Linked DNA regions of Homo sapiens: all the other regions are linked to region 4. Evidence: promoter capture Hi-C in 16 types of primary human blood cells and fetal thymus (Javierre and others, 2016). All regions are on one chromosome and are shown on one strand. The core of a region is centred on a gene start or on the middle of the fragment in contact, and the rest is flanking DNA. Distances in the headings are between cores, read along the strand shown.

The links. Contacts are between HindIII fragments. The CHiCAGO score rates a contact against its expected background, and 5 or more counts as called.
Region 1: a contact is called between a fragment that was not itself captured here and the fragment with the promoter of SLC25A3 in region 4, in 2 of 17 cell types (monocytes and non-activated CD4 T cells). The highest score is 8.2, in monocytes.
Region 2: a contact is called between a fragment that was not itself captured here and the fragment with the promoter of SLC25A3 in region 4, in 10 of 17 cell types (total CD4 T cells, activated CD4 T cells, total CD8 T cells and 7 more). The highest score is 23.9, in total CD4 T cells.
Region 3: a contact is called between a fragment that was not itself captured here and the fragment with the promoter of SLC25A3 in region 4, in 1 of 17 cell types (M1 macrophages). The highest score is 7.6, in M1 macrophages.
Region 5: a contact is called between a fragment that was not itself captured here and the fragment with the promoter of SLC25A3 in region 4, in 2 of 17 cell types (activated CD4 T cells and total CD8 T cells). The highest score is 6.1, in activated CD4 T cells.
Region 6: a contact is called between a fragment that was not itself captured here and the fragment with the promoter of SLC25A3 in region 4, in 1 of 17 cell types (non-activated CD4 T cells). The highest score is 6.2, in non-activated CD4 T cells.
Region 7: a fragment that was not itself captured here is called in contact with the fragment with the promoter of SLC25A3 in region 4 in 1 of 17 cell types (non-activated CD4 T cells); the score reaches 8.6 in non-activated CD4 T cells.

The regions. Positions count from the first base shown.
Region 1 is chr12:95,205,025-95,208,323 of GRCh38, reverse strand. All of the region lies in intron 2 of FGD6 (FYVE, RhoGEF and PH domain containing 6), which reads left to right. Among named protein-coding and RNA genes, the nearest start is that of FGD6, 11 kb to the left of the region's middle. The HindIII fragment of the contact is 2,503 bases long and covers 472-2,974 here.
Region 2 is chr12:95,220,892-95,223,956 of GRCh38, reverse strand. The region is part of intron 1 of VEZT (vezatin, adherens junctions transmembrane protein); the gene reads right to left. Among named protein-coding and RNA genes, the nearest start is that of VEZT, 4.6 kb to the right of the region's middle. The HindIII fragment of the contact is 875 bases long and covers 817-1,691 here.
Region 3 is chr12:101,881,775-101,885,177 of GRCh38, reverse strand. The region is part of intron 1 of DRAM1 (DNA damage regulated autophagy modulator 1); the gene reads right to left. Among named protein-coding and RNA genes, the nearest start is that of DRAM1, 5.9 kb to the right of the region's middle. The HindIII fragment of the contact is 3,451 bases long and covers 1-3,175 here.
Region 4 is chr12:98,591,705-98,594,975 of GRCh38, reverse strand. SLC25A3 (solute carrier family 25 member 3) reads right to left here and starts at 1,290. Exons shown (of 8, transcript NM_002635.4): 1 at 1,236-1,290; 2 at 841-1,001. The coding sequence starts at 997. RefSeq lists enhancers at 251-875, 1,199-1,298, 876-1,500, 1,549-1,768. The HindIII fragment of the contact is 3,126 bases long and covers 1-1,990 here.
Region 5 is chr12:95,468,720-95,471,943 of GRCh38, reverse strand. No RefSeq gene overlaps it. Among named protein-coding and RNA genes, the nearest start is that of METAP2, 3.8 kb to the left of the region's middle. The HindIII fragment of the contact is 5,545 bases long and covers 1-3,224 here.
Region 6 is chr12:95,253,633-95,256,789 of GRCh38, reverse strand. The region is part of intron 2 of VEZT (vezatin, adherens junctions transmembrane protein); the gene reads right to left. Among named protein-coding and RNA genes, the nearest start is that of VEZT, 37 kb to the right of the region's middle. The HindIII fragment of the contact is 3,115 bases long and covers 136-3,157 here.
Region 7 is chr12:101,835,935-101,839,533 of GRCh38, reverse strand. It overlaps the pseudogene RNA5SP369. Among named protein-coding and RNA genes, the nearest start is that of GNPTAB, 6.8 kb to the right of the region's middle. The HindIII fragment of the contact is 4,973 bases long and covers 1-3,599 here.

The DNA of each region.
Region 1 (3,299 bases), core at 474-2,973, 3.4 Mb after region 4:
ATGCAGGAAACACGTAACTACTCTTTATTTCTCACTTTTAAAATAATTTAATTAAAAAAAAATTTTTTTTTTGAGATGAGGTCTTACTCTGTCACCCAGGCTGGAGTGCAGTGGTATGATCATGGCTTACTGCAGCCTCGACTCCCCAGGCTCAAGGAGTCCTCCCATCTCAGCCTCCTTGAGTAGCTGGGACTATAGGTGCATGCCACCATGCCTAGATAATTTTTGTATTTTTTGTAGAGACAGGGTTTTGCCATCATGCCCAGGCTGGTCTTGAACTCCTGGGCTCAAGCACTGCTCCTGCCTTTGCCTCCCAAAGGGTTGGGATTACAGGCATGAGTCACTACACTGGGCCTATTTCTCACTTTTGTGTGTGCACTTCCTACCTGTGGAATACCTACTCCATCTCTCTTATTAAAATCGTGCCCATCCTCAATAATCCACCCCCTCAGTCTTTGGCTTCATTAAGCTTCTACAATTACCTAGTCAGAAGTGTTTACTTCCTATTCTGACCACCCAGTTATGCTGTGATATCCTTTCATCTCAGGCTGTCTTAATGTATAACTATTTATTGGCATGTCTGATGTTCTGTATTTGGTTTTAAGCTCCATGAAGAGTTCTAGTCATCTCTTTGCCCTGGATAAAGCCAAGCAAGAGGCCTAGTAGAATCAGTAGATGTTGATTGGGTCTAAGAGAGAATGAATGAAAATAGGCCAAGAGAGCAACCACTGCAGCGGCTTCCTTCTCTCCATAGTCGCATAGGTAGCTTTTCCATTGTATTTCTAATGTTTGTTTGTGTTTAACAAAAAAGCACATGGACCCTTTTGGAAATCTTTAGATTGTTCTTAGTCCACTAACTTCAGGTCTTTGAAATTCAAGTCTTGAAATGTGACTTTTCTAGAAAATACTTGGCACATAGTGGGGTGTATTAGTCCGTTCTCACGCTACTAATAAAAACATACTCAAGACTGGGTAATTTATAAAGGAAAGATGTTTAATTGACTCACAGTTCAGCATGGCTGGGGAGGCCTCAGGAAACTTACAATCATGGCGGAAGAGGAAGCAAACACATCCTTCTTTACATGGGGGCAGCAAGGAGAAGTGCAGACCGAAAGATTGAAAAGCCCATTATAGAACCATCAGATCTTGTGAGAACCCACTCACTATCTCTAGAACAGCAGCTTGGGGGAAAACCGCCCCCGTGATTAAATTACCTCCCACCGGGTCCCTCCCACGACATGTAGGGATTATGGGGACTACAATTCAAGGTGAAATTTGGGTGGGGGCACAGCCAAAGCATATCTTGGGGGCTCCAAAAAAAAAAAAAAGCATTGTTGGGTGAATTGAATAAATAAAATTGTCGAGCAAGTCAGCGTACCAAGTAAAGTAAATTATTTTAAGTTCCTTTAACTGTCAGGTATTCTCATAGCATTTCTCTTTACTCGTAGTCAGTCTTTCCTGCCCTTCCTCCTTTTGCCTAAAAATGGCTACTTTCCTCCCTTGTCTAATTTTTCTCACAGCCAGCTGCATTCTGTTTTCATATTTCTGCTTCCTGAATATTAGTACCTAGGCAAAAAGCTCCTTCCTTGGCATAAGTACTTCTTTTTCTTTTTTTTTTTTTTTTTCTTTGGAGACAGGGTCCCCTCTCTGTCTCCCAGGGTGGAGTACAGTTGTATAGTCAAGGCTTACCGCAGCCTGTAACTCCTGGGCTCAAGTGATCCCCACCCACCTTCAGCCTCCCAAGTAGCTGGGACCACAGGGGCATACCACCACACCCAGCTGATTTTTATTTTTTATTTTTTGTAGAGATAGGGTCTCCCTGTATTGCCTAGGCTGGTCTCAAATTCCTGTGCTCAAGTGATCCTCCCATCTCAGCCTCCCAAAGTGCTGGGATTACAGGCATGAGCCACCACTACCGGTTCTTGGCATAAATATTTCAAATTGTCTGTTTTCAGGATTGCTCTTCTCTGCAGAACCATTTTATTGGTACTATCCTTTTTTTTTTTAAACATGCTTTTGCATATTTTTTTGTGTGTAATAAGTTTGGTTGGCTTCTTCACAATGTACTACTATCCTTGCCTAAGATAAATTTTTTTTTTAATCACTTTATTTGTGAATGAGTACAATTTTTTCTTGAAATTGGAGGTTTGGCCATTGGGGTGTGTTTTCTGTTGGCCATCAGGCTTAAACCCTAAGGGCTTACCATTATCTCTGCCAATCCTGGAGCTTGTTTTTTATCTGTTATGCTGCTTAGTTTGTTAGGGCCTGCTACTCGACTGGGTGGAAGCTGGTGAGAAGGGGTTAATGGACGCAGCCAGCCAGTGGCATAAGGAGAGTTCTTTCTGGAGGCCACAGGAAACCAGGGCGGCTTTGGACAGGTTATAGGCTGTCAAGTAGGGCAGCCTGGTAAAAGCTGGGTGAGCTTTGCTTTTGAATTTCGCTTTCCAAGGAGACTTTTGTTTAGGCCTGCAGCAGGGAGCCTGCAACAGGCTTGAGACTACTAAAATGTGCCAGAGGAATCAAAAGCCCTGAGTCATAGGGTCAGAATCACAGTATTGCCTGGGAGGTTGTTCCTCTTGTAAACAACATTGAATAGAGGAGAAAAGAAATTCAAGTCTTCCTGAGGAGGACACCTTGACACCCTGAGATCAAATAAATGAACAGTGAGGCATACATTTCAGGTGAGCTCAAAGGGTCCTGTTTGGTAATCTCGCTGTTGAAAATACAGACCTGTGCCTTAGAATACTTAATTCAAAATCCAGTACACTGACTGGGGTTCTAAAATGATAAGAAAAAGTGAAAATGAACTCTGTTTAAGATTTTTCTGCTGGGGTCATCACAAGGGTGTCTTAGTTTCTCAACCTTCAGGGAAGAAAGTCTGGGTCAGGGCTCTAATTCACTGAATCATGTATTTTACAGAGTCTACACATGTGACCAACCAAATTCTGGTTAGTAAACAGACTTTTGACAAGCTTGGGTGTAGCCCATATGGTCTTATTCTTTAGAATATAGATGTTTCATAAATCCATTGCTTACCATTTACTTTTTTTTTTTTTGAGACAGAGTCATGCTGTGTTGCCCAGGCTGGAGTACAGTGGCACCATCACTGCTCACTGTAGCCTTGACCTCCTGGGGTTAAGTGATCCTCCCATCTCAGCCTCCCAGGTAGCTGGTACCACAGGCATGTGCCACCACACCCATCTAATTTTTGTATTTTTTGTAGAGATGGGGTTTCACCTTGTTGCCCAGGCTAGTCTCGAACTCCTGGTCTCAAGACATCCTCCTGCCTTAGCCTCCCA
Region 2 (3,065 bases), core at 5-2,504, 3.4 Mb after region 4:
GGAAATTTATAGCCTTACAAGTTATTTTGGGCATTTAGGTTTTTAACTCAAGAAGCTAAAAAAAACAGAACAAAAATAGCAAAATAAACACAAATAGATGAATGGAAATAGATAAAAGTAGAAATTTTAAAAAAATTTAAAACCACAAACAAATTCAATAGAACTGACCAAACAAAACCAACTAGTTTTTTGAAAAGTCTACCTGAGGCCAGGCACGGTGGCTCACATCTGTAATCCCAGCACTTTGGTAGGCCGAGGTGGGTGGATCACCCGAGGTCAGGAGTTCAAGACCAGCCTGGCCAACATGGTGAAACCCCATCTCTACTAGAAATACAAAAATTAGCTGGGCATGGTGATGGGTGCCTGTAATCCCAGCTACTCGGGAGGCTGAGGCAGGAGAATTGCTTGAACCCAGGAGGCAGAGGTTGCAGCAAGCCAAGATCCTGCCATTGCACTCCAGCCTGGGCGACAAGGCTAACAGAGTGGAACTCTGTCTCAAAAAAAAGAAAAGTCTATCTGGTAAGTTGAAACTCCAGCACATCTATGCAAAACAAAAAGAAAAACATAACAACAATCAGATCTAATTTGTGCTATAAATGAAACTAAAGAGACTACTAAGAATATATCAATAATTTTGAAAACCTAGATAAAAAGCAATTTGTTGGAAAAATTTAATAAAAGGTAACATTTACTGAGTGTTTACAATGTGTCAGGTACTCATCTAAGTAATTCACTTATATTAAATCATTTAGTACTCATAACTACCTTACGAGATAGTTACTGTTATTTTTATTTAATATGGAGAAAACTGAAGCTTAGACAAGTTAAGTAACCTGCTCAAAGTCACATTAACTAATATAACTAATAAATAGCTGACCTAGGATTTCTTAGGTTATCCAGCTCCAGAGCCCATATCTTTAACTATATTACACTGCCTTTCAGAATAAAAAAGTTATCAAAATAGAAAATTGTACCTGAGCAATAACCATAAAAGAAATTGAGCTGATAGACAACATTCAGTCTCTTTTCCCCAGGAAAGGCCAATTTAGCTATACTCTGAAGAAACAGATAATTCTCATTTTGTAAAATCAGTCCTAGAGCACAGAACGAGATGAGAAGTTGCTTGATTCATTTAGAAGGCAAGCAATAAATGTTCACGGATTGGAAGATTCAATATTGATTGTAAAGATGTTAAGTTTCCCCAGATTAATTTATAGCTTCAAAGCAATTTCAATCAAAGTCTCAGTAGGGTTTTTTTATTTTTATTTTTTATTTTTTTACAAAAACTGACAGGCTGATTCTAAAATTTATATGGAAATATAATGGGCCAAGAATAGCCAAAGGCAATCCTGAAGAAAAATACAGCTGAAGGGTCTTATGCTATCAGATATTAAAACCTATTTTTTAAATTATAGTAATTAAAATAATGTGGTATTAACACACGAATAGACAAAATGATCAATGGCAAAGAAGACAGTGTCCAGAAAGAGATCTACACATAAAAGATTCCCTGATTTATGACAAAGGCAACACTACAGTTCAGTGGGGAAAAAATGATCTGTTCAGTAAATGGTGCCAGGTCAACTGGACATCCATACGGGGAAAAAAAAATGTTGATCTTCACTTGTTACCATACAAAAATCAGTACCAGATGGATGACAGATCTAAATGGGAAAATGTCAAATAAAGCTTTTAAAGAAAATATCTTTGTGACCTTAGAGTAGGCAAATATTTTTTTAACAGCACTAATCACAAAAGAATAAGGTTTAATTGGATTATAATAAGGAGCTTCTGTTCATTGAAAGACACGATTAAAAGAGTGCAGAGGCCACATATAGCCCAAGGTAAGATATATGAGGTATATACAGTTGTCTCTTTATTCATGGGGAATTGGTCACAGGACTAGGGCAAATACCCAGTCCATGGATGCTCAAGTCCCTTATATAAAATGGCATAGTATTTGCATATAACATACACACAGTCTCCCACATATTTTAAATCATCTCTAGATTATTTGTAATACCTAATACAATGTGAACACTATGTAAATAGTTGTTATCCTGTATAGTTTTTTTATTTGTATTATTTTTTGAATATTTTTGAGTATTTATTTATTTATTTAGAGATATGGTCTCACTCTGTCACCCAGGCTGGAATTGTAGCTCACTGCAGCCTCAAATTCCTGGGCTCAAGCAATCTTCTGCCTCAGGCTGTGGAGTAGCTGGCATTACAGACATGCATCACCACACCTGGTTAATTTTTTTCTTTTTTTTTTTTAATATGCAGGGTTTTGTTAATGTTGACCAGGCTGGTCTTAAACTCCTGGCTTCAAGCAATATTCCTACCTTAGCCTCCCAAAGTGCTGGGATTACAGGCATGAGCCACCTCACTGGGCCAGAGTATTTCCTTTATTTTTTTTTTTTGAGATGGAATCTTACTCTGTCACCCAGAGCAACCTCCGCCTCCTGGGTTCAAGCGATTCTCATGCCTCAGCCTCTGGAGTAGCTGGGACTACAGGTGCATGCCACCATGCCCAGCTAGTTTTTGTATTTTTTAGTAGAGACTGGGTTTCGCCATGTTGGCCAGGCTGGTCTCAAACTCCTAGCCTCAAGTGATCTGCCTGGCTTAGCTTTCCAAAGTGCTAGGATTATAGGCGTGAGCCACGGTTGGTCCAATCTGCAGATGTGGAACTCTCAGCTAAGGAGGGCCAACTGCATCTCTAACAAAGGACTTGTATCCAGTGTATGTAAATAATTCCTTCAAATCAGCAAGAAAAAGAAACAACCCAATAGAAAAATATGCAAGAAATTTGACGTGGCTTCACAAAATGGATATACAATTGGCTAATAAACACATTAAAAATCTTAACATCTTTATCAAGAAAATACAAATTAAAACCACAAGGAGATACCAGGACATAGCCCCTAGAATCATAAAAAGAAAAACACTAAAATTAGCAAGGGTTGATGAGGATGTGGGGCAATGGGACCTCTCATACATTCCTGGCTGGAGAATAAACTGGTACAACCACTTTGGAATAAAGTTTGGCAATATCTACAGAAATA
Region 3 (3,403 bases), core at 201-2,700, 3.3 Mb before region 4:
CTTTGGGAGGCCAAGGCGGGAGTTCAAGACCAGCCTGACCAACATAGAGAAACCCCGTGTCTACTAAAAATACAAAATTAGCCGGGCGTGGTGGCACATGCCTCTAATCACAGCTACTCGGGAGGATGAGGTGGGAGAATCGCTTGAACCAGGTGGCAGGAGGTTGCAGTGGGCCAAGATTGCGCCATTGCACTCCAGCCTGGGCAACAAAAGTGAAACTCCATCTCAAAAAAAAAAAAAAAAACATTTTCTCTATAAAGATCAGCATCTGAAGATTTAACACACACTTGTCATAACCCAAAATTTGTGATTGTTACATAAATGCAAGTTAAAATCGTTATTTTCCTAATTTTTAGTATCATTTTTGAAGTTAAAGACCTGACCAAACTTCTTTTACTTCATTTACTCTGCAATTTTGTTCCTCCTTTTAAAGTGGCTTGATTCTAGGTGACCCAGTTTTCTGTCATCAACTACTGAGCAGAGATTATGGGGTCATGAGGTAGGACAATATGGGTGGCCAAAGGCCACAATCTATCCCACAAAACTGTATTCACATGGAAAGTGAGACGTGCTAATAAAGAGAAAAGCCAGGATCTAGAATCGGCAACACTGAAGAGTAAAGGATCACAGAATATCATGAGCAAGATATCATGGCAGGAGACACATGCCAAAAAGAAGATGGAAGACAGTGATCTATCAGCTGGAAAAAGTTAATAATTTGATAAGAAACTATAACAAGTTAAGCATGATTTGGCTTGAGAATGTGGGTGTGGCCGTGTGCAAATCTTTTTTTTTTTTTTTTTTTTTTGAGACAGGGTATCACTCTGTCACCCAAGCTGGAGTGATCACTGCAGCCTCAGACTGCAGGCTCAAGTGATCCTCCCACTCAGGCTCCTGAGTAAGTGGGACTGTAGGTGCATCCTACCACGCTCAGCTAATTTTTTGTATGTATTGTAGAGACAGGGTTGCACCATATTGCCCATGGCTGGTCTCAAACACCCGGACTCAAGTGATCAGCCCACTTCAGCCTCCCAAAGTGCTGGGATTACAGGCATAAGGCACCACACCCGAGTGCAAATCTAAACTAATTTTTTGAGATTAGCTTTTATTTGTCCTTCCTTTTGATATGCTTTTGTTAATGGTTTCAGAATAAGAAATATCACTTTATGCTATTCTAACTTGTTATATCTCACGGTGGTTGGTCCCATGTTTTTATTTTGTATTTATTTATTTTTTTTTTTTTTGAGAAAGAGTCTCGCTCTATCACCAGGCTGGAGTGCAGTGGCACAATCTCGGTCCACTGCAACCTCCACCTCCGGGTTCAAGCGATTCTTCTGCCTCAGCCTCCTGAGTAGCTGGGACTACAGGCACATGCCACCATGCCCAGCTAATTTTTGTATTTTTAGTAGAGATAGGGTTTCACAATGTTGGCCAGAATGGTTGCGATCTCTTGACCTCGTGATCCGCCTGCTTTGGCCTCCCAAAGTGCTGGGATTACAGGCGTGAGTGAGCCACTGCGCCCGGCCTCATGTTTTTAATTTAATTTTCTGATAGGAAACATTCATGCGGGGCGCAGTGGCTCACGCCTGTAATCCCAGCACTTTGGGAGGCCGAGGTGGGCGGATCATGAAGTCAGGAGATCGAGACCACCCTGGCTAACATGGTGAAACCCCGTCTCTACTAAAAATACAAAAAAATTAGCCAGGTGTGGTGGCACGTGCCTGTAATCCCAGCTATCAGGAGGCTGAGGCAGGAGAATCGCTTGAACCCGGGAGGCGGAGGTTGTGGTGAGCCGAGATCGTGCCATTGTACTCCAGCCTGGGCAACAAGAGTGAAACTCCATCTCAAAAAAAAAAAAAAAAACCTATTTGGGTAAAAAATAAAACAAAAAAGTATGCCTTATAATTATCCTTTTTCCCCATCTGCCAATGTCTCACTGACCTTGACCTACTCCTCCCTCCATCACACACAGATAAACCACTTTCATTAGTTTCTTTATGCAAGCTAATGCAAATATATATTATTTTTCTCCTCTTTTTTCTTAACTAACGAGAGCATAGGTTGTTCTGCATCTTGCTTTTTCCCATGTAACAATGTATCTTGGAGATTTTTCCATATAAGTGTATTGACGTAAAAATCTGCTAGGTACAGAGAGCTTTCACTTGAAGTATCCTTTAATAAATAAACCATATTTATTTAGGCAATTCTCTACTGATAGTCATTTGTAGTTTCCAATCTTTTGTTATTCAAAGCAATGCCCTGAGTAACTCTGCAGAAATGCCATTCTTCACATGGGCATGTACACCTATAGGATAAATTTCAAAAAAAAAAAAAAAAAAAAAGGCTGTTGCATCAAATGATGGGGGGGTGTGTGTGTATCTGTCATTTCCATAGATATTGCCCAAGTCCCACCATGGAGACTGAAATCAATTCACGTTCCTGTAAGCAATGTATGAGAGAGACTGTTTCCCCATATTCTCACCAGTACTAGTATCAAACATTTGGGTTTCTGCTAACCCACTAGATCACAACTGGCATCAGTGAGTTTTAATTTGAATATTTATTCCTATTCATAAAGTTGAGTATCTTTTCATGTGTATAAGAGCCATTTGCCAATTTATCCAATATGCTGAAGAATAACAATGTTACAAGGAGAAAGTATCTGATAAGGAAGCTGATTCTAAATGCCATACTGGGGAGAGGTCCTCCTTATGGTTGTGGCTCTTATTTAAAGTGTTCAACTGTGCTAAAAACATTAGACCATCAGGGGCCGGGCGCGGTGGCTCACGCCTGTAATCCCAGCACTTTGGGAGGCTGAGGCGGGCGGATCACAAGGTCAGGAGATCGAGACCATCCTGACTAACATGGTGAAACCCCGTCTCTACTAAAAAAATACAAAAAATTAGCCGGGAGGGGTGGCGGGCGCCTGTAGTCCCAGCTACTCGGGAGGCTGAGGCAGGAAAATGGCGTGAACCCGGGAGGCGGAGCTTGCAGTGAGCCGAGATCGCGCCACTGCACTCCAGCCTGGGAAACTCCGTCTCAAAAAAAAAAAAAAAAAAAAAAAAAAAAATTAGACCATCAGAATGACTGAACAATGTTAGAATGTAAAAGGAAACTCATCCTAAGGACTTTCAAATCACTGACTAGCCACCAAACAGAATGGCCATGTCAAGCTTTTCCTTAAGGGATCTGCCCTGTCCTGGGGTAAAGAGTGAGTACCCAAGAAATAGTCATTCAGAAATATTCATTCAGCAAATATTGAGAGCTTTCATGGACCTTACAATCCAGTGAAGGGAGACAGAAAATAAACATAATAAATAAGTTAAATCACATGATTTGTTAGAAGGTGATACGTGCTGTGGTGAATAATAAGACTGGATATGGAGACCAGTAGTGGTCAGGT
Region 4 (3,271 bases), core at 41-2,540:
ACATTTAATACACAAATAATGTTAGCTTTAACTTTTAAACTGAACGACAGATAGTGTAAATAAGGACTCTATCCATACTAAAGACAACAGAAGCACATGAATGATTTAAAGAAAAAAATCTTTCGATTTTACAGGCACAAGGTAGATAACATTCTTAGGACTCCTACAATTCGGTTTTCAGGTTTCTCTGTATGTACATACTTCACTAGGATTTAAAACACACACAACTAAGTTAAAGCTGGGCCCAACCACCAAGAATCCCAAGAGATAATCACACCAAAGGGACGCCCACCAATTATCTCCTTTCTATTGCCTATGTAGGGCTGCAAGCTGCCTCCTCCAGTCGCACGAAAACAGGACATCTAGTTATCTCATATACAATTAAGTGCAAAAATGACTGACCTGGCGTCGACAAATATAAAACTTAGGAAAGGACTATTTTTAAGAAAACTAAGGGCAAATCAAAGGACAGGTAATATAGTTAGTAGAACTGTGGGTGGTCAGTAGTTTCGGGAGGAGAGTTTACCCAGTACTTAGTTTGCTGACCAAGCGAGCTCACGGCGGAGAAAGAGCTAGTCACGGCCTCTCTTCCCTCGGGCACACGGAGGTCACGAAGGGACACAGGGCCTCAGCGCTTCCACGCCCTTGAGGGAAGGCCAAGGATCTGACACCCGCCTATGGTGGAAAAGGCCGATACCCCAGGGCAAGCAACTGGGCGCCGTCCTACGGTGCAGCGGGCTGGACTCGTCCTTCCCTGTCCTCCAAGCCGGGTCCAGGCCTCAAAGGCTGGGCGGCCCACAAGTAGACCACACGACTGTATTGGGCAGGGTCTGATCTCACCTTCCACGGCGGCGGCTGCCAGGTTGCGAGGGCGGCGGGGCTGGCCCGTGGGCCCTGGGGAGCTGCTGCGGAGGTCCCCGAGACCATCGTGCACCAGCTGCAGATGTGGCGTGTTGAAGGGGTTCGCCCGCGCCAGGTGCGCCACGGACGAGAACATCTTTCTAGGGGAGGAGGGAGCGACGGTTAGAGGACAGGCAAGGCGCCGGTTAACGTTACCGGCGCCCTGGAACCCCAACCGGGGCCTTTTCCTTCCCGTCTCCACGCCCTTGAAGAGGTCACGGCGGCCTTCGAAAGAGGCTGCTCCCGGCTGGGCCCACCGCCAAAGCAGCGGCCCCACAGGAGCTCTGGGCTCCGCTCCCCACACCCGCCACAGGAGAAGGCCCGGCCACACTCACTCCCTAAGATGGCGATCACACAACCACTCCCTTGGAAAGGTTGCGGCTCACAGAGGCCGGACGTCCTCCGGGTCCTAAGATGTGTGCCCTTCGCGCGTCGTCGGCGTGACGCACACAGCGCGCCACTGCAAGTACGCGTCGCCCATTGGTGGAGAAGAGCGCCGAGCCCGTAGCGTCATCGCGTTCTCCTAGCAACCTTATTCCCGCCCCTGCCCGCCCCAGCTCTTCCGCCCGGCTTGTGCGCGGGAGGATTCGTTCTGCGCAGGCGCGCGTTCCGGGTCTATATTTTTTGAGAGGGGTCGGGCTCGAGCTCTTACCCTGCTCGCTTTGTCCCTTCACCTTCAGGTGTCTCTCCTTGACCACGGGCTTCAGTTCGCTTCACTTAAGTGAATCACAGTATCTAGTAGTCACTTAAAAAACAAAACAAAACGCGAATGCTTGATAATATATTTAGGTGTTGGAGTTACAACATCACTGCAGTACTTTGTGTCACAACTTCTGCCATTACAGTACTTTTTAAAATAAGTTCCATCCATTGACATTAAACATAGGTATGTCTGTATTTTTCATCAGACTCCTGGAGAATATTTTAAAAAGAAATGTGCAGCAAGAAGTCTTACGACAGCTTGCCGCGTTATCACAGTAATCTACAGAACACGTTGAAACATTGAACTCCTGAGATGTTACAGCGATGAACTACTGAAAGTGACTGATAGCAGATTGTGCGTGTGTGTGGTTAATACATTTAGGAAGCTTTCATTAGATTCAGCTCAACAGGGAGGGGCGTAGTTTAGTTGGGGAGAGTTTAATAGGGATTCAACCTGTTAGACTTCTGACTCTTATATTTTCCAAGCTCTTGACAAAGTAACCTTGGGAATTTACTTCATCTCTGTGTACCTGTTCCCTAGATGTAAGATAGGGGTGGGACTGGCCTCATAGGTTCACACTGGTACAGTCACACATGGCCTTACACTTCATTTAATGCTCTGCTGTCATTTTGATTTTTTTTTTTTTTCTTTTGAGATGGAGTCTTGCTCTGTCGCCCAGGCTGGAGTGCAGTGGGGCGATCTCAGCTCACCGCAACCTCCGCCTCCCGGGTTCAAGCGATTCTCCTGTCTCAGCCCCCGGAGTAGCTGGGACTACAGGCGTGCACAACCACGCCCGGCTAAGTTTTCTATTTTTAGTAGAGACAGAGTTTCGTCACGTTGGCCAGTCTGGTCTCGAACTCCTGAGCTCAGGTGATCCGCCCACCTCGGCCTCCCAATGTGCTGGGATTACAGGCCTGAGCCACCATGCCCGGCTTGAAATTCTTAATACATGTATGAACAAGGGGCCACGCTTTTTTTAGTTTGCACTGGACCCTGCAAATCAGGTGTCTGGTTCTGGATGGGAGTAATACTTACCTTGCAGAGTCTATGAGAACTCAATGAGATAATGTCTAAAAGTCTACAGAAGATGTTACCTAAAAAAAGTTAGCATTGGCCGGGCGAGGTGGCTCACGCCTGTAATCCCAGCACTTTGGGAGGCCGAGGCGGGCAGATCACGGGGTCAGGAGATCGAGACCATCCTGGCTAACACGGTGAAACCCCGTCTCTACTAAAAATACAAAAAATTAGCCGGGCGAGGTGGCGGGCGCCTGTAGTCCCAGCTACTGAGGAGACTGAGGCAGGAGAATGGCGTGAACCCAGGAGGCAGAGCTTGCAGTGAGCCGAGATCATGCCACTGCACTCCAGCCTGGGCGACAGAGCAAGACTCCGTCTCAAAAAAAAAAAAAAACAAAAAAACAAAAGTTAGCATTGAGGCTGCGGCATCACGGCACTCTCTAAGCAACCCTATCCCAGACCCAGCCCTTCTGGCCCAACTAAAGTCCTACAGTCCCAGGAAGAATTCCAGAGTGGAGGGCACAGGAAGGGAAGTAGTGACAGATAAAGTTAAAAAAGTACACTAGCACCTGATTGTCCAGGGCCTCACATACCAGACTGAGGAGTCTGATCTTATGTAGACAGAGGTAGTCACTGAAGGGTCTGGACTTTCTC
Region 5 (3,224 bases), core at 372-2,871, 3.1 Mb after region 4:
GGCCAGGCTGGTCTCAAACTCCTGACCTCAGGTGATCCACCTGCCTCAACCTCCCAAAGTGTTGGGATTACAGGCATGAGCCATTGCGCCTGGCAGAGTATTCTTGGCAAAGGGAAGGTAAAGAAAAATTTAAGAGGTATTTAAGAGGAGACATGGATTCTAATACTAGAATGGTCATTTGGCTATAATTTTGTGACTCTGGACAGCCCATATATTTTTGAGCCTTGATTTTCTCATCTGTAAAACAGTAGGGAGTATAACACATTTAAAGAACTAAAAAACATCCAGAATGGCTGGAATGCAAAGAGGTGGAGAAGGGAGTGAGTGTGATGAGATGAGACTAGAAAGGTAAGAGCCTTGCAGGAAGGAAAGGGTAGGAGAGCTGACAGAGCCTTTTAGATCATACTAAGGGCTTTATACTTTGTCCTAAGAACAATATAAAACTCTTAAGTATTTTATTTTACTTTTTTTATTTATTTTTCAGACAGGGTCTCATTCTGTTGCTCAGGCTGGAATGCAGTGGCGTGATGTCAGCTCACTGCAACCTCTACCTCCTGGGTTCAAGCAATTATCCCACCTCAGTCTCCCAAGTAGCTGGGACTACAGGCACATGCCACCACACCCAGCTAATTTTTGTATATTTTGGTAGAGACAGGGTTTCACCATGTTGGTCAGGCTGGTCTCAAACTCCTGACTTCAGGTGATCCACCTACCTCCCTTAAGTATTTTATTTTTATTTTTTATTTTTTTCTGAGATGGAGTCTTGCTCTGTCGCCCAGGCTGGAGTGCAGTGGTATGATCTCGGCTCACTGCAACCTCCGCCTCCCGGATTCAAGCAATTCTTCCACCTCAGCCTCCCGAGTAGCTGGGACTACAGGTACGCGCCACCACACCCAGTTAATTTTTGTATTTTTAGTAGAGACGGGGTTTCACCATGTTGGCCAGGCTGGTCTCAAACTCCTGGCCTCAGGTGATCCGCCCTCCTCAGCCTCCCAAAGTGCTGGGATTATAGGCATGAGCCACTGTGTCCAGCCCCCTTAAGTATTTTAATGGTGAGGAGACAGTTAACCTGATGAGAGTTGCAATTAACATGATTAGATTTTTGAAAAGATCACCATGGCTGCAGTGTACAGAGTAGAGTTGAGGGTGGCCAGAATGAAAGCAGGGAGATCAGTTTAGAGGCTATTACAGTCAATAGGTTATAGTGGCTTGAAAGGGAATGATGATGGGTATGACCAAAAAAATGAATAGATTTAAGAGATATGTGGGAGATAAAATGGGCAAGACTTGGTGATGAATTGTATAAGGGATTTGAGAGAGAAGAAGATATCAAGGAATCCCCTTCGGTGTGTGCTGGTGAAACTGGATTGACTGGTAATGTAATGTAAATAACAGAGATAGAAAAACATTTCAGATTTGAAAGGGAAGATTATGAGTTAGATGTGAGACATGCTGAGTCTGAGGTGTCTTGGGGCATTAAAGTGGAGCTGTGAAGAAGGTGGATAACTATAAGGAACTGGAGATCAAAAGAATAGTTGGAGCAGATATAAAAATTTGAGTCATCAACTAATAGATGGGAATTGGAACTTTGACACAGATAAGATCATCCAGCAAGTGGATCTAGACATGAGAGTCTACCTGTACTGCACAGCATGGTGGCCACCTACCACGTTGCCACTGAGCACTTAAAATGCTGCTAGTTCAGGCCGGGCGCGGTGGCTCACGCCTGTAATCCCAGCACTTTGGGAGGCCGAGGCAGGCGGATCATGAGGTCAGGAGATCGAGACCATCCCGGCTAACAAGGTGAAACCCTGTCTCTACTAAAAATACAAAAAATTAGCCAGGCGTGGTGGTGTGCACCTGTAGTCCCAGCTACTCGGGAGGCTGAGGCAGGAGAATGGCGTGAACCCAGGAGATGGAGCTTGCAGTGAGCGGAAATGGTGCCACTGCACTCCAGCCTGGGCGACAGAGCAACACTCCATCTCAAAAAAAAAAAAAAAAATGCTGCTAGTCCAAATTGAGTTATGCCATAATTTAGAATACACACTGAATTACAAAAACTTAATACAAAAATACTAAAGTTTCTCAATAATGTTATATTTATTGTTGAAATGATAATTTTTATATAGAGTTAAATAAAAACATCATTAAGATTGATTGTTACCTGTTTCTTTTTACTTTTTAAAATGTGGCTACTAGAAAATTTAAAATTACGTGAGTGACTATTGGAAATGTAAATTGTCAACCTTAAAAAAAAGACACTAGAGGCTAGGCATGGTTTCTCACACCTGTAATCCCAGCACTCCAGGAAGATCACTTGAAGCCAGGAGTCAGAGACCAGCCTGGGTTACCAAGCAAGACCCCCTCTCTACAAGGAATTAAAAAATTATCTGGGCGTGGTGGCATGTGCCTGTAGTCCCAGCTACTCGGAGGCTAAGGTGGGAGGATTGCTTGACCCAGGGGAAGTCAAGGCTGCCATGAATTATGATCACACTGTCACAGAAGGGCTGGGCTCCCAGCTAAACCCCACCCTTAAGCCTGGAACCATGGCCCTAAGTGAAAACAGCTGACCCCATTTTTCTGCCCAAATGTTGCTTTTTTGGCCTGCCCCACCCCATCCTGTGCCCATGAAAGACTTAAGCTGGCAAAGCAACATAAGCGGCTGAGCGTCGGGAACACGAGCGGCTGAGTGGCAAGCAAAGAAACAACTAAGTGTTAGAGAGTAGATGCAGCTAATTTTGGACGTGCAGCTTCCGAGAGGGGCCTAGCCAGAGATGGGTGGGCTTCAGGTAAAGATCACCTTCCCACCCCCTTTCCAGCCTCTCTTTCCGCTGAGAGCCACCCACTGCTCAATAAAGTTGTCTGCATTCATTACCTTTCAACCCGTTCATGTGACCTGATTCTTCCTGGATGCCAGACAAGAACCAGGAAGCCCCTGAGAGTATAGGGGCTGCCACCCTGACCCTCCACTGAGCTGGTTGGCACTTGGCCATCCCTGGAAGGCAGAGCGGACAGAGCATTGGCTGTAATATGCTTGGATGCTGCTGCAGGGCCCACATAGAGCCTGCTCCCACCAGAAAGGAGCAACTGGCTGGTTCCAGAATTCGTTCACTCCAGTTCCCACACTCGCTCTCTCGCACACTCCCTCCCGTGAGGAGTGGCCAGCAGTGGGCTTAGTGAAACCAGTCACTCCACTTCCCACCCACCAAGGGGGTCAAGGGAAC
Region 6 (3,157 bases), core at 444-2,943, 3.3 Mb after region 4:
AGTATTTATTTCAGAAAGAAAAATCATAGGGTGGTTACAAGTTCTCAAATATTAAGACCATTTCATTCCACAATACTAAGTCAAAAAGATACTTTGACCATTTTAGAAAAACTGTCATATATTGATAAAAAAGCTTTACTACTGAATCAACCAAAAATTCAATTTACCTTAATAGCCCATTCCTTGAGCATGCCAGTAAGTGCAGTTTATATTCATTGAGTGATTACTATATCCCAGGTACTGCAAAGGGTCATGGGAAAAAAGATAAATACATGTAACTATTGTTTTCAAGAACTTAGTATAGAAGAAGAGACAATATAAAGAATTACAATCAATGTAAAGTCTGAAAAAGTATTGGAAAAGAGGAGGTCAGAGAGGAGCTAACACTGGAGTTCAGTCCTAACGGATGAGTAGGAATTTAACAAAGAAGGGAAGAACGAGTTGGGCACGGTGGCTCATGCCTGTAACCCCAGCACTTTGGGAGGCCGAGGAGGGCGGAGCACCTGAGGTCAGGGGTTTGAGACCAGCCTGACCAACATGGAGAAACCCCGTCTCTACGAAAAATACAAAATTAGCCAGGCATAGTGGTGCATGCCTGTAATCCCAGCTACTCGGGAGGCTGAGGCAGGCGAATCACTTGAACCCGGGAGGCAGAGGTTGTGGTGAGCCGAGATCGCGCCATTGCACTCCAGCCTGGGTGACAAGAGCGAAACTGCATCTCAAAAAAAAAAGAGAAGATCACTTCAGTCAAGGGAAGAGGATGAAGGAAAGAGCCATTAAAGCACATGTCATGGGGATGGTGGCGCACTCCAGGACAGTTATGACCCAAGAGAAGAAGGGATTAGTAAGGAAGTTAAAAAGGTACACTGAGATAGGTTTTAAAGGATCTTAGACTTACACACCATAATAGTATGAACATTATCCTGTAGGGTGTGAGGAGCTACCAAAGATTTTTATGCAAGGAAGCGAAACAATAAAGAAAAATAATTGGCAATAGTGCAGGGGCTAAACTGGCAGGGTATGATTGTAGACAAGAAGCATGATTAAAAGGATATTCAAGGCCGGGGGCGGTGGCTCCCGCCTGTAATCCCAGCACTTTGGGAGGCCGAGGTGGGTGGATCACAAGGTCAGGAGTTCGAGATCAGCCTGGCCAACATAGTGAAACCCCGTCTCTACTAAAAATACAAAAAATTAGCCGGGCGTGGTGGTGGGCACCTATAATCCCAGCTACTCAGGAGGCTGAGGCAGGAGAATCGCTTGCACCCGGGAGGTGGAGGTTGCAGCGAGCTGAGATCGCACCACTGCACTCAAGGCTGGGCGACAGCGCGAGACTCCATCTCAAAAAAGAGAAAAGAAAATTAATCACTCAGCTAAATAACAATAAAGGCCTTTAAGTTAGGTAATGAGTACAAAAAAGATCATGAATAAGAGTTAGATTTAAGAGACACAGAAGCTGACTTGATGTATCACTTGATGACCAAGGCTATGTCAGCGCGATTGGAAATGGTATGGTAACTGAGAGGGTGGTGATTTGGGACTATTAAAAAGAACACTTTTTGTTTGTTTGTTTTGGGGGTGTCTGAGGGGGTAGTGATTTGGGACTATTAAAAGGAACATTTTTTGTTTGTTTGTTTTGGGGGTGTCTGAGGAAGTCCTATTTTAGACAAGTTGAATCTGAGCTTTGTGGGGCACATGTAGAAGAAAATGTCTAACAAGCACCTGGAACTCAGCAAAGCCTGGAGAATGGACATAAGTGGCAAGAAAGTAGATGAGATCCCCAGAGAAGATATCAAGCCAACGAGAAGCCTGCTGCTAAAACTCTATGGAATGAATTTAAGAATAATCACAGGAAAAGAAACCAGAAAAAGAGACAGAATGAATATTCATAGTAAGAATATCAGGGCAGACTACTTAACAACTACTAACAAGCATATGCAAAAATAAAGTTAAAAAAGAGAGAGCAATTAATGCTAAGGATGGTTTCATTAAGAACTCATAGAAAAACAGCTTTTCAGAGGAAATAATTGATACTTCATTCCTTGAACAGAATTTTGGGAGCAATTCTAAACATACATTCCCTGACAATGAGCTAAACAATACAACAAGTTTTCTAAAATTTAGCTCTCCCCAAATTAGGAAAAAAATTGGTCGGGCATGGTGGCTCATGCCTGTAATCTCAGCAGTTTAGGCCAAGGTAGGCGGATCACTTGAGGTCAGGAGTTTAAGACCAGCCTGGCCAACAAGGTAAAACCCCATCTCTACTAAAAATACAAAACTTGGCTGGGCGTGGTGGCCTGTGCCTGTAATCCCAGCTACTTGGGAAGCTGAGGCAGGAGAATTGCTTGAACCTGGGAGATGGAGGTTGCAGTGAACCAATATTGCGTCACTGCCCTCCAACCTGGGCGACAGAGTGAGACTCCGTCTCAAAAAAAAAAAAAAAAAAAAAAAAAGAACTTCGTTTTAGAAAAATATAGATCCTACAGTTAAAAACTTGTCTTAGAAATGTGCAATATGGCTGGGTGTGGTGGCTCACATCTGTAAGGCCAAGGTAGGAGGACTGCTTGAAGTCAGGAGTTTGAGACCAACCTGGGCAACATAGTGAGTGGTAATTTTTAAATCTTTACAAAAAATAAAGAAGAAAATTAGCTGGGCATGGTGGCACATGTCCGTGGTCCCAGGTACTTGGGAGGCAGAGGTGGGAGGATCACTTGGGCCCAGGAAGTGAATGCTGCAGTGAATTGTAATCACACCACTGCATTCCAGCCTGGGTGACAGGGGAAGACCCTATCTCAAATAAATAAATAAATAAATAAAATGAAGACAAAACAAACTTTCTAGACATATGATAATTTTTTTGAGATGGGGTCTTGCTATGTTGCCCCAGCTGGTCTCCAACACTTGGGCTCAAGTGGTCCTTCTGCCTCAGCCTCCCAAAGTGCCGGGATTATAGACATGAGCCATTGTGCCCAGCCTGGTAATTTTTTAAAACAACCTCTGGCTATGCTTTTTATTGTTCCTCAGTTTCTGAGGGGATTCAATTTTAAACTCTCACTTGACTTATTTATAAACTAGCAACAACATTTCTATATATAAAAATACTTGTCATAAATGACAATAATACCTATAAAACCCAAGTTTGTATCAAAACAAAACAAAA
Region 7 (3,599 bases), core at 813-3,312, 3.2 Mb before region 4:
GCTCACTGCAGCCTCAAACTCTTGGGCTCAGGAAACTCTCCTGCCTCAGCCTCCTGAGTACTGAGTAGCTGGTACTACAGGCACGGGCCACAATGCCTGGCTAATTTCTTTCTTTAAAAAGTTTTTGTAGAGATGGGGATCTCAATATGTTTCCCAGGCTGGTCTTGAACTCATGACCTCAAGCAATCCTCCTGCCTTGGTGTTCCAAGGTTCTGGGACTACTGGCATGAGCCACTGGGCCACTCTTCTTTTCTAGATTTCATTGTTTGGTTTTTGTGTTTTCTTCTTCCTGCCACATGGTGGGTTAGGGTACCAGTATGGGAGGACATCAGCTGTGCTCTGCAGCAGCCATGCGTATCCAGAGATCACAGTATCTCAGAACCTTGCCACCCTGGCCTAGGCCTGGTGACCTCCTTGCCTTGGTCCTCCTGATGGGTACATTGTGTGCCCAGGCCTGACACCCACTGCAGTGCCCCAACTCCCAATTGTGCACCTGCATTCTGTGCCAATATTGATGGGATGCAATAAAATTAGTAATTAGAGGGACATTTATGCTTTGGAAAACATTTATTAAAAAACCATAAAATTGAAAAAATTGAGCTAAATATTAAATTTGAAAAATGAGTTCAAGAGCAACAGAGCAACAGAGCAAACAGAATAAGGGGGGAAAATTACCAAGACAGAGACACAAATCAATGAATAGAAAACCACAGAACATTAGAGAGAATGACCCAAACAGGAAGCTGGGTTTTTTTTTTGTCTGTTTGGTGTGTTTTTTTTTTTTTTTTGTCTTTTTTTTTTTTTTTTTTGGAGACGGAGTCTCACTCTGTTGCCCAGGCTGGAATGCAGTGGTGCAATCTCAGCTCACTGCAACCTCTGCCTCCCAGGTTCAGGTGATTCTTCCGCCTCAGCCTCCTGAGTAGCTGGGACTACAGGCGCACACCACCATGCCCAGCACATTTTTTGTATTTTTAGTAGAGACAGGGCATCTCGATATATTTCCCAGGCTGGTCTTGAACTCATGACCTCAAGCAATCCTCCTGCCTTGGTGTCCCAAGGTTCTGGGACTACTGGGCCAGCCTTCTTTTCCAGATTCCATTGTGAGCCACCGTGCCTGGCAGAAGCTGGTTTTTGAAAAGATTATTTAGGCTGGGCACAATGGCTCATGCCTGTAATCCCAGCACTCTGGGAGGCCGAGATGGGTGGATTGCCTGAGCTCAGGAGTTCAAGACCAGCCTGGACAACATGGCGAAAACCCATCTCTACAAAAAATACAAAAATTAGCCAGGCATATTGGTGCACACCTGTAATCCCAGCTACTCCAGGGGCTGCAGTGGGAGGATCGCTTGAGCCCAGGAGGTCGAGGCTGCAGTAAGCCAAGATGGTATCACTGCACTCCAGCCAGGGTGACAGAGAGACCCTGTCTCTAAAAAAAGAAAAGGTTATTTAGGCAAAGGGAGAAAAGATACAAAGAAGTAGTAGACAAAATGAAGCAAACAAACAACCAGAGTCAATAATGATAGAAATAACAGAGGTTTTAAAACCAAGTTGACATTAGTATATTCCACTATATAAAAATGATCCCAAGCTAGAAAGTTTTCCAAATGAGCTCTACCTCAAAACATAGGGTTATTCTCTATATCCTTTAATAACACACTGTAATTCAATTCATCAAAACTTTATACAACTCTGTGATTGGAACTTTTTTTTTTTTGAAACAGAGTCCCTCTCTGTCGCCCAGGCTGGAGTGCAGTGGCGCAATCTCGGCTCGCTGCAATCTCTGCCTCCCAGGCTCAAGCAATTCTCCTGCTTCAGTCTCCCACATAGCTGAGATTACAAGCATACACCATCACACCTGGCTAATTTTTGTATTTTTAGTAGAAATGTGGTTTCGCCATGTTGGCCAGGCTGGTTTCGAACTCCTGGGCTCAAGTGATCCACCCTCCTTGGCCTACCAAAGTGCAGGCATTACAGGTGTGAGCCACCTCAGCCAATGGTTGGTACTTTTATCAGTGCAAAATATATTAATTCATGTAATAAATTTTTATCAATTAGTTTCTATTGGCAAGACACAATGCTAAGATTAGGGATACATTTCTGGATAAGATGGGTAAGTCTCTTGCCTTTATGTTGCTTATATTCCAGTGGATGAAATGTACAAAAAAACCCACAAGTAAATATCACATAAACAGAATAAAGTATGGTTGGGCCTGGTGCGGTGGCTTATGCCTGTAATCCTAGGATTTTGGGAGGCCAAGGTGGGCGGATCATCTGAGGTCGAGAGTTTGAGACCAGCCTGGCTAACATGGTAAAACCCCATTTCTACTAAAAATACTAAATTAACTGGGCGTGGTGGCACATTCCTGTAATCTCAGCTACTTGGGAGGCTGAGGCAGGAGAATTGCTTGAACGTGGGAGGTAGAGGTTGCAGTGAGCCAAGATTGTGCCATTGCACTCCAGCCTGGGTAACAGGGCGAGGCTTCATCTCAAAAAAAAAAAAAAAAAAAAAAAAAGGACAAAGTATGGTTACATTTATGTGAAAATTAGGTATTTTATATATATGTGATGTGTTTGAACTCACAAAAAAGTTAACAGTGAGCCATGTTATGTTTTGGCTCTTGAAATTCTTCCATCCAAGTACTAACCAGGCCCAAACCTGCTTAGCTTTAAGGAGATCAGATGAAATTGGGCGCCTTCAGGGTGGTATGGCCATAGATTTGGCTCTTGAAATTCTGTCAGAGGCTGGCTGCGGTGGCTCATGCCTGTAATCCCAGCACTTTGGGAGGCCGAGGCAGGCGGATTACCTGAAGCCAGAAGTTTGAGACCAGCCTGGCCAACATGGTGAAACCCCATTTCTACTAAAAATACAAAAATTAGCCAGGCATGGTGGCAGGTGCTTGTAATCCCAGACACTTGGGAAGCTGAGGCAGGAGAGTCACTTGAACCAAGGAGGCGGAGGTTGCAATGAGCAGAGACCATGCCAAAGCACTCCTGCCTGGGCATCAGAGTGAGACTCCATCTCAAAAAAAAAAAGAAAAAAAAAAAAAAGAAAAGGAAATTCTATCAGAAACAGTTAAATTACTTAATAATTTTGTTTGCACTAGTTTGCAAAAATTAAAAGCCATCCTCACTTTCTTTTTAAAATGTATTTAATTTTATTCCAGATTGAAGGGATACACATGCATGTTTGTTAAATGGGTATACTGAATACTAGTAAAGATTGAGCTTCTAGTGTACCCATTACCCAAATAGTGAACACTGTACCTGACAGGTAATTTTTCAAATCTCATCACCCCCCAACTGTCACCTTTTTTGGAGTCCCTGGTTTTAATTATTAATATTGCCATTTTTATGCCCATGTGTACCCGTTGTTTAGCTCCCACTTATAAATGAGAACATGCAGCATTTGATTTTCTGTTTCTGAGTTAGTTCACTTAGGATAATAGCACCCAGCTCCATTCATGTTGCTGCAAAGGACATAATTTCATTCTTTTTTATGGCTGTCTGGCTTTCTTAGACTAAAGAAAGGAATAGGATGACTTACAACTTACATGTCTATGAATATACACTAAGGGAGGGAATAAAATCAAAATGTGTTT